Regions from separate parts of the Homo sapiens genome. Here region 2 is linked to region 1. The links are contacts of gene promoters, found by promoter capture Hi-C in blood cells and fetal thymus (Javierre and others, 2016). All regions are on one chromosome and are shown on one strand. The core of a region is centred on a gene start or on the middle of the fragment in contact, and the rest is flanking DNA. Distances in the headings are between cores, read along the strand shown.

What was found. Contacts are between HindIII fragments. The CHiCAGO score rates a contact against its expected background, and 5 or more counts as called.
Region 2: a fragment that was not itself captured here is called in contact with the fragment with the promoter of TSPAN9 in region 1 in 1 of 17 cell types (endothelial precursors); the score reaches 5.1 in endothelial precursors.

What each region holds. Positions count from the first base shown.
Region 1 is chr12:3,075,825-3,079,127 of GRCh38, forward strand. It overlaps TSPAN9 (tetraspanin 9), which reads left to right and starts at 1,555. Exons shown (of 9, transcript NM_006675.5): 1 at 1,555-1,629. RefSeq lists silencers at 1,061-1,110, 1,161-1,660. The HindIII fragment of the contact is 2,240 bases long and covers 109-2,348 here.
Region 2 is chr12:3,769,972-3,773,274 of GRCh38, forward strand. No RefSeq gene overlaps it. Among named protein-coding and RNA genes, the nearest start is that of CRACR2A, 19 kb to the left of the region's middle. The HindIII fragment of the contact is 3,658 bases long and covers 1-3,303 here.

The sequences.
Region 1 (3,303 bases), core at 305-2,804:
GTGACGGAAAGGGGCCCAGAAGATGAGTGGAAACTTCCAGTCTAATTAGCAGAAAGCAAAAGTGACCCTAGTGATTATAGCCAGGTTTTAAAAACTTGTCCCCAGTCAAGCTTAGTGCAATGGTAGGGCACGTGGGAAGCACAGCATACAGTTTCTTTAAAATTTAAAAAAATTTCACTTTTAAAGACAGGGTCTCCCTCTACTGCCCAGGCTGGAGTACAGTGGCATGATCCTAGTTTACTGCAGCCTCCAACGCCTGAGCCTCAGCCTCCGGAGCAGCTGGGACTACAGGGGTGTGCCACCACACCCGGTTAATTAAAACATTTTTTTTTTGAGATGGGGTTTCCCTATGTTGCCCAGGCTGTTCTTGAATTCCTGAGTTCCTGAGCTCAAGCAATCCTTCCACCTGGGCCCCCCAAAGTCCTGGGATTACACGCGTGAGCCACCACACCTGGCCTAGAAGACATTTTTGATGACAGTAATGATGAGAAGAGATGGCGTTTTAGTGCTCTTTGGAAACAAGTTTAGGCCTTCTAGCTTTAAGAATCCGGGCCTATAATCCCAGCACTTTGGGAGGCAGAGGCAGGAGGATGGCTTGAGCCCGGGAGTTTGAGACCAGCTTGGGCCCAGGGAGACCACCGTCTGTACAAAAAAAATCAAAAACTTCGCCGGACGTGGTGGTGCGCGCCTACAGTCCCAACTACTCTGGAGGCTGAGGCGGGATCACTTGAGCCCGGGAAGTCGAGGCTGCAGTGAGCCGTGATCGCACCACTGCACTCCTGCCTGGGCAACAGAGTGAGTCCTTGTCTCAAGAAAAAACAAAACAAAACAAAAAGCAAAAAACACATAAAATCCAGGCCTGAAAAAGCGCCCGGGCCAGACATGCCTAGCTGGAGTTTCTCCTGCCTTAGCGCACCCCTCAGGCACACGGTGCCCTGTAGTCGCCCTTGGAGGCCGCCAGCTCCTGGGGAGGCATGGCCCTTTCTGCGGGAGGTGTCTCAGGCAGGCTCCAACACACACCCGCGCTGTCAGCATCTCGCACAGTCCGCCCGAAACACCAGGGAAGGGGTTCGTAGGTGTGGGGGTGGGGTGGCGAGGCCAGGCAGCCTGGCGCGAGGGAGAGAGCCGAGGCCTGGGCCAGGAAGGCCCTTGGGTGCCGTGTGGGCGCAGAGCCCAGGAGAGCGCACTGCCAGGCCCGGACCTCCCCGCCCCTACCCCGGGAAGAGGCCCGTTCGCCGCAGGGGGAAGGCGGGATCATAGCACCTCGGAGGAGCGGCCGGTCCGGGCATGCGGGCGGCGGGGCGGGGAGGGAGGCTTCCGGAACCCCGAGAGAGCACCCGTGCCTCGCGGGCCCCGTGCCCCGTCCCCGGGCTCCCCTTCCTCTAACGCAGGGGACCCAGCCCGGGGCAGTGCCGGGCACTGGCGCTGGCGCCCCGCTCAGCCCTGCGATCCTTCTCCGCCCCGCCCCTCCCCGCTCCGCCCCGCCCCTCCCCGCTCCGCCCCCGGGCCGCCCCGCCCCGCAGGCTCGCCATTCCCGGGCAGGCCCCGCCCCCTGTTTCCGCTGGCGGCGGCGGCGGCGGCGGTGCCGGAGCGCGAGCAGAGCGGAGACCCCCAGGTCCTGCGGGCGCGGTGAGTGCGGCCCGGGCGGCGGGCGGCGAGGCGGGTCTCGAGAGCGTGCGGAGTCGCGCGGCCTTGAGCCGGCGCCGGGCGGGCTGGGCACCCCCAGGCCGAGACCCGAGAAGGGGGAGCGGCCGGGGGCGCCCACGGGAGGCAGTGTGGGCAGGGCGGCGGTGGGACGAGAGGACGAGGAACAGAGTAGGCGCCGTGCGGGAAGCGGGCCGGGAAGGGGAGGGTGGGTGCGGGGCCCGGGCACCGAGCGAAGTGGGGTCCTCCAGGGGATGGCTCCGAGGAAGACCGTTTCAGAAAGGGAGTAACCCGGGGCCGGCAAGGGTTTCCGACTGTGTGACCCCGTGCACCGCTTGGGACAGTCCATACAAGGACCCCAGAGAGGGCCAGGGGGCCTTCGGGCAGGGCTGGGATATGGCCTGCAGCCCCCCGGCACCCGCGACCGCTCCCTGGGCCACTGCTGGAAGATCAGCACTCCGAGTGACAGGACTCTGGCACATCCCGAAGTTGGAGATCTAGCCCATCTGTGCATTCAAGTTTGGGACTTCAAAAAACTTTCTTGTGGTTTTTAAAAAAAGATCCAAACAAGAAACCGGCTTGTTGTTGTAAGAGCAATATTTGTACTTGTACATCTTGGAACTGGAGTCTTGGATCTCCTCCCTCTTTGAAAAATATACGAGTCACTGCTTCATCTTCCCCCAAATGCCTGTTTTGTCTGGGGAAGCTTGGGCTAGTATGGGATCCCCTGAGCTACCTTTTTCTCGCATCACCAAAACGGGGGGTAAGAAGGCAGGGGCTTACCTGCCTTACCTGGTAACTCTTAGTTCAGAGACCCAGTCTCTCATTATGTGCGCGTGCCCTTCTGACCTGCAGCTGTCCTTTTCCCTGGGGTGACTCAGGTATTTCCTCCTCCAGGAAGCTTTCCTGGACTAGTGGAGAAAACTGAAGACTCATGCGAGGATCCCTATATATACCTGCCAGCTCCCTTCTCTTTACTGAAAATAGCCACAGAGAATGTTGAATATATGCTTTGCTATAGAGATACGCAGCCAGCTTGCCATCATAAGTAATGGGGAGGGGAGGAGAGGGATTATGGATAATTTCAAACAATAGCCTGGACAAATCATTTATATTTAGCTAAGGAATGCAGCCAGAGAGGCAGACAATTACACCGGCTTCCTACCCTCGGCTTGGTCCTGGCATGGCTGATGCAGCTGGGCTGTGGGTTGGAGGGAGAGGATTGGGGTAGATAAAACTTGAAGTGTAATTCAGTTCTACTCTCACTCACTGAAGACGCCCTGTGTGCAAGTCCCTGAACAGGTGAGAGTAGGATTTTTTTTTTTTTGGTCTGGTTTAATCAGATTTTAATATTCTGGCAGAGCTTTTTAAACCTATGAACAGATATTTAATATTAATAACAATAACTAGTGTTGATAAAGTAATTTATAGTTGGCCAAGTTTTTTCTATGCACGTTACATTAGCTGTATATAATTTTATTTAATTCATACGTAATCTTGTGAAATTTGTTACTTTTTTTTTTTTTTTTGAGACAGAGTCTCACTCTGTTGCCCAGGCTGGAGTGCAGTGGCAGGATCTCAGCTCACTGCAACCCCCGCGTCCCAGGTTCAAGCCATTCTCCTGCCTCAGCCTCCCGAGTAGCTGGGATTACAGGCGCG
Region 2 (3,303 bases), core at 561-3,060, 690 kb after region 1:
TTGATTTTTAATGAAGGACAAGACAATTCGATTTGGAAAGGATAGTCTGTTCCACAGTAGGGGCTTGGGTAGGGATATCTATATGAAATAAAATGAACTTAGACCCTTCTCTTACATTCTCCTTAAACTCAAAGGGGTCACAGTCTTAAGTAGAAGAGCTACAACTATAAAACTTTTAAATGAAAATATAGGAGAAAAATATTTTTGAGAAATCTTCTGCAAATCTTTATGACTCCAGAAGGATCCATAAAAGAAACAATTGGTAAATTGCACCTTATTAAATTTAAAAACCTTTGTGCTTCAAAAAATAACCCTAATAAAATTAAAAGACCAGCACAAACTGGGATGAAATATTTGCAAAACATATATCTAATAAAGGTCTAGTATCCAGAATATAAAAGGTAGCTTTACAATTCAGTAATTATAGTAATTTTAATTACAACTGATTAAAAAATGATAGAAGACTTGAATAAATATTTCACCAAAGAAGACATATTAATAGCAAATAAACACATGAAAAGGCACCCAGCATCATTAGTCATAAGGAAATGCAAACTAAAATCATAATGTGGGTTGGGCGCGGTGGCTCACGCCTGTAATCCCAGCACTTTGGGAGGTCAAGGCAGGTGGATCATGAGGTCAGGAGATCGAGACCATCCTGGCTAACATGGTGAAACCCCGTCTCTACTAAAAATACAAAAAATTAGCCGGGTGTGGTGGCAGGTGCCTGTAGTCCCAGCTACTCGGGAGGCTAAGGCAGGAGAATGGCATGAGCCCGGGAGGCGGAGCTTGCAGTGAGCTGAGATCGCACCACTGCACTCCAGCCTGGGGGACAGAACGAGACTCTATCTCAAAAAAAAAAACATAATGTGATACTCTTATATGCTCAGTAGAGTGCTATATTCAAAGACAGGTAATACTAAGTATTAGTGAGGGTGTGGAGAAACTGGAATGCTTGCATGTTCCTGGAAGAAATGAAAATGGTACAGCTACTTTGGAAAATTCTTTGGTTCTTTCTTAAGTTAAACAAAAACTTACCCAAGACTCAGTGGCTTCACTCTGAGGAATCTATCCAAGAGAAATGAAAACATCTCCATACAATGACTCATAATTGAATGTGCATAGCAGCATTATTTGTACTAGCCAAAACCTGGAAAAAATCCAAATGTCTACCAGTTGGTGAGTGGATAAACCCAATATGGTATACTCATTCAATGGAATACTACTCAGCAATACGAAGGAGTAAAATACTGGTACATATTACAACATGAATGAACCTAATAAAAAGTATGCCTAAAAAAGACAGATGTAGGCCAGGCGCAGTGGCTCACGCCTGTAATCTCAGCACTTTGGGAGGCTGAGGCAGGCGGATCACGAGGTCATGAGATCAAGACCATCCTGGCTAACACGGTGAACCCAGTCTCTACTAAAAAAAAATACCAAAAAATTAGCCAGGCGTGGTGGCGGGCGCCTGCAGTCCCAGCTACTCTGGAGGCTGAGGCAGGAGAATGGTGTAAATCCAGGAGGTGGGGCTTGCAGTGAGCCGAGATCGTGCCACTGCACTGCAGCCTGGGCGACAGAGCGAAACTCTGTCTCAAAAAAAAAAAAGGAAGAGAGATGCAAAGAGTATATATTAGATGATTTCGTTTATAGTAAGTGTCCAGAAGAGGCAAATTATAGAGACAGAAAGCAGATTAATGATTATCCTGGGGAGGTGGGGTAGAAGTTGGTTTGGGCTGCAAATGAGCTTAATAAAATGTTTAGGATTATGACAATGTAATAAAACTGGATTGTGATGATGGTCATACAACTCTATACCTTTATTAAAAATCATTAAGTTGTATACTTGCAATGGGTATAAGGTATATAAATGACACCTCAAAAAGGCTGTGAAAACAAAAAAAAACACACAAAAACAAGACAAAACAAAGCAACCTGACTCTCAATACTGACTCAGCAATGGAGGTGTGAACTCTGGACATGCAATGACCAGCTCCTCAACTGTGTAGGTGACATCTTGTTGTGACATAAATTTTCTCTCCTTCCTTCTGACCTACACTGATTGCATGTAGCCCCAGTCAAAGCCAACCCTGCTCGGGCCATGCCCTGTCTAGCTATCCAATGTCCCTGTGCACTCTCAGAGTTTGCTGCCAGGATCTCTGGGACAGTGTGCCAGGTTTCCAGCCACCTGCTCAGTACTTTTCAGCATCACTAAAATGGAGTTATTTTTGATACCAGTAATGGCAGAAATCCAACTAAAATGAATTTTTATCTACAATCTTGGCCTTTACCAAAAAAGAACTGAAACACTGCACACACATATTGCTATCCCCATTTTCCCAGCATATAGTACCTGAGGAGAGAATTCTGGATGACACTTTCTGCCCTACCAAGAATACCTACCAAAATTCTAAAACATATTTGCTGTCTGTCCCCTAGGCATGAGTGTGTGTGTTTTGAGAAAGCTAGGTGGAGGATGAGGGGTGAAGATGTAGTAATTTGGTGTTTGAGCTATTGAGTTTAATTGAGTGATACATCTGTGCAGAAACGGAATGTTGACGTCATCACTTCCTCTGCCAACTTTGTTTGCTGTTTTTGTTTTTTTAAACGAAATAGATTTCTTTGGGGCTGCAGCTGGCTGCCTCCAAAGAGGGATCAAACCAGCTCACTTCCTGCTCATGCTCTTCTCTTTTACTCGGGACCCAGTCACCAGCTGAGTTTTTCAGGATTCTAAAATTCCTTAACTACTCATTTCATGTTTCCTTAACTACTCATTATGTGATTCTCATTCATTTCCCAACAGATGTTTGTTGAGCTCCTATTAAGTGCAAAAGGCTGTCTTAGAGGCTGTGGGGGATACAGAGATTAAAAAGAATGACCCTGTCCTCAGAGAGTTTACAGTCTAACTAAAGCAGGAGGTAGGGAAGGTGAGTATACAATAACTAAGCTATAAGGTAAGGTGATAACAGACAGACAAACTGAGATATCAGAGTTTCGAGGAAGGAGAGAGGCCTTTTAGCTAGAACGATCAGGAAAGCCTTTCTGGAGAAGGCGTGATTTGAATCAGATCTTAGGGATGGATATAATTTTGATTGACAGATTGCAGGAATGTGAGAAATATAGATGGAAGGAAATAACATGTGCCTGGAGAAAGAAGTTTTTAGAAATGGAAACGCACAAGGTGAATTTGAGAGAAAAATAATATTATTTTGCTAAAATACAGAAATTGGATTGAGAAGCAGAAGCAGATAAGTCTATAAATACATGCTGGAGTAAATTATGTAGACACTGAATGCCAGTTAT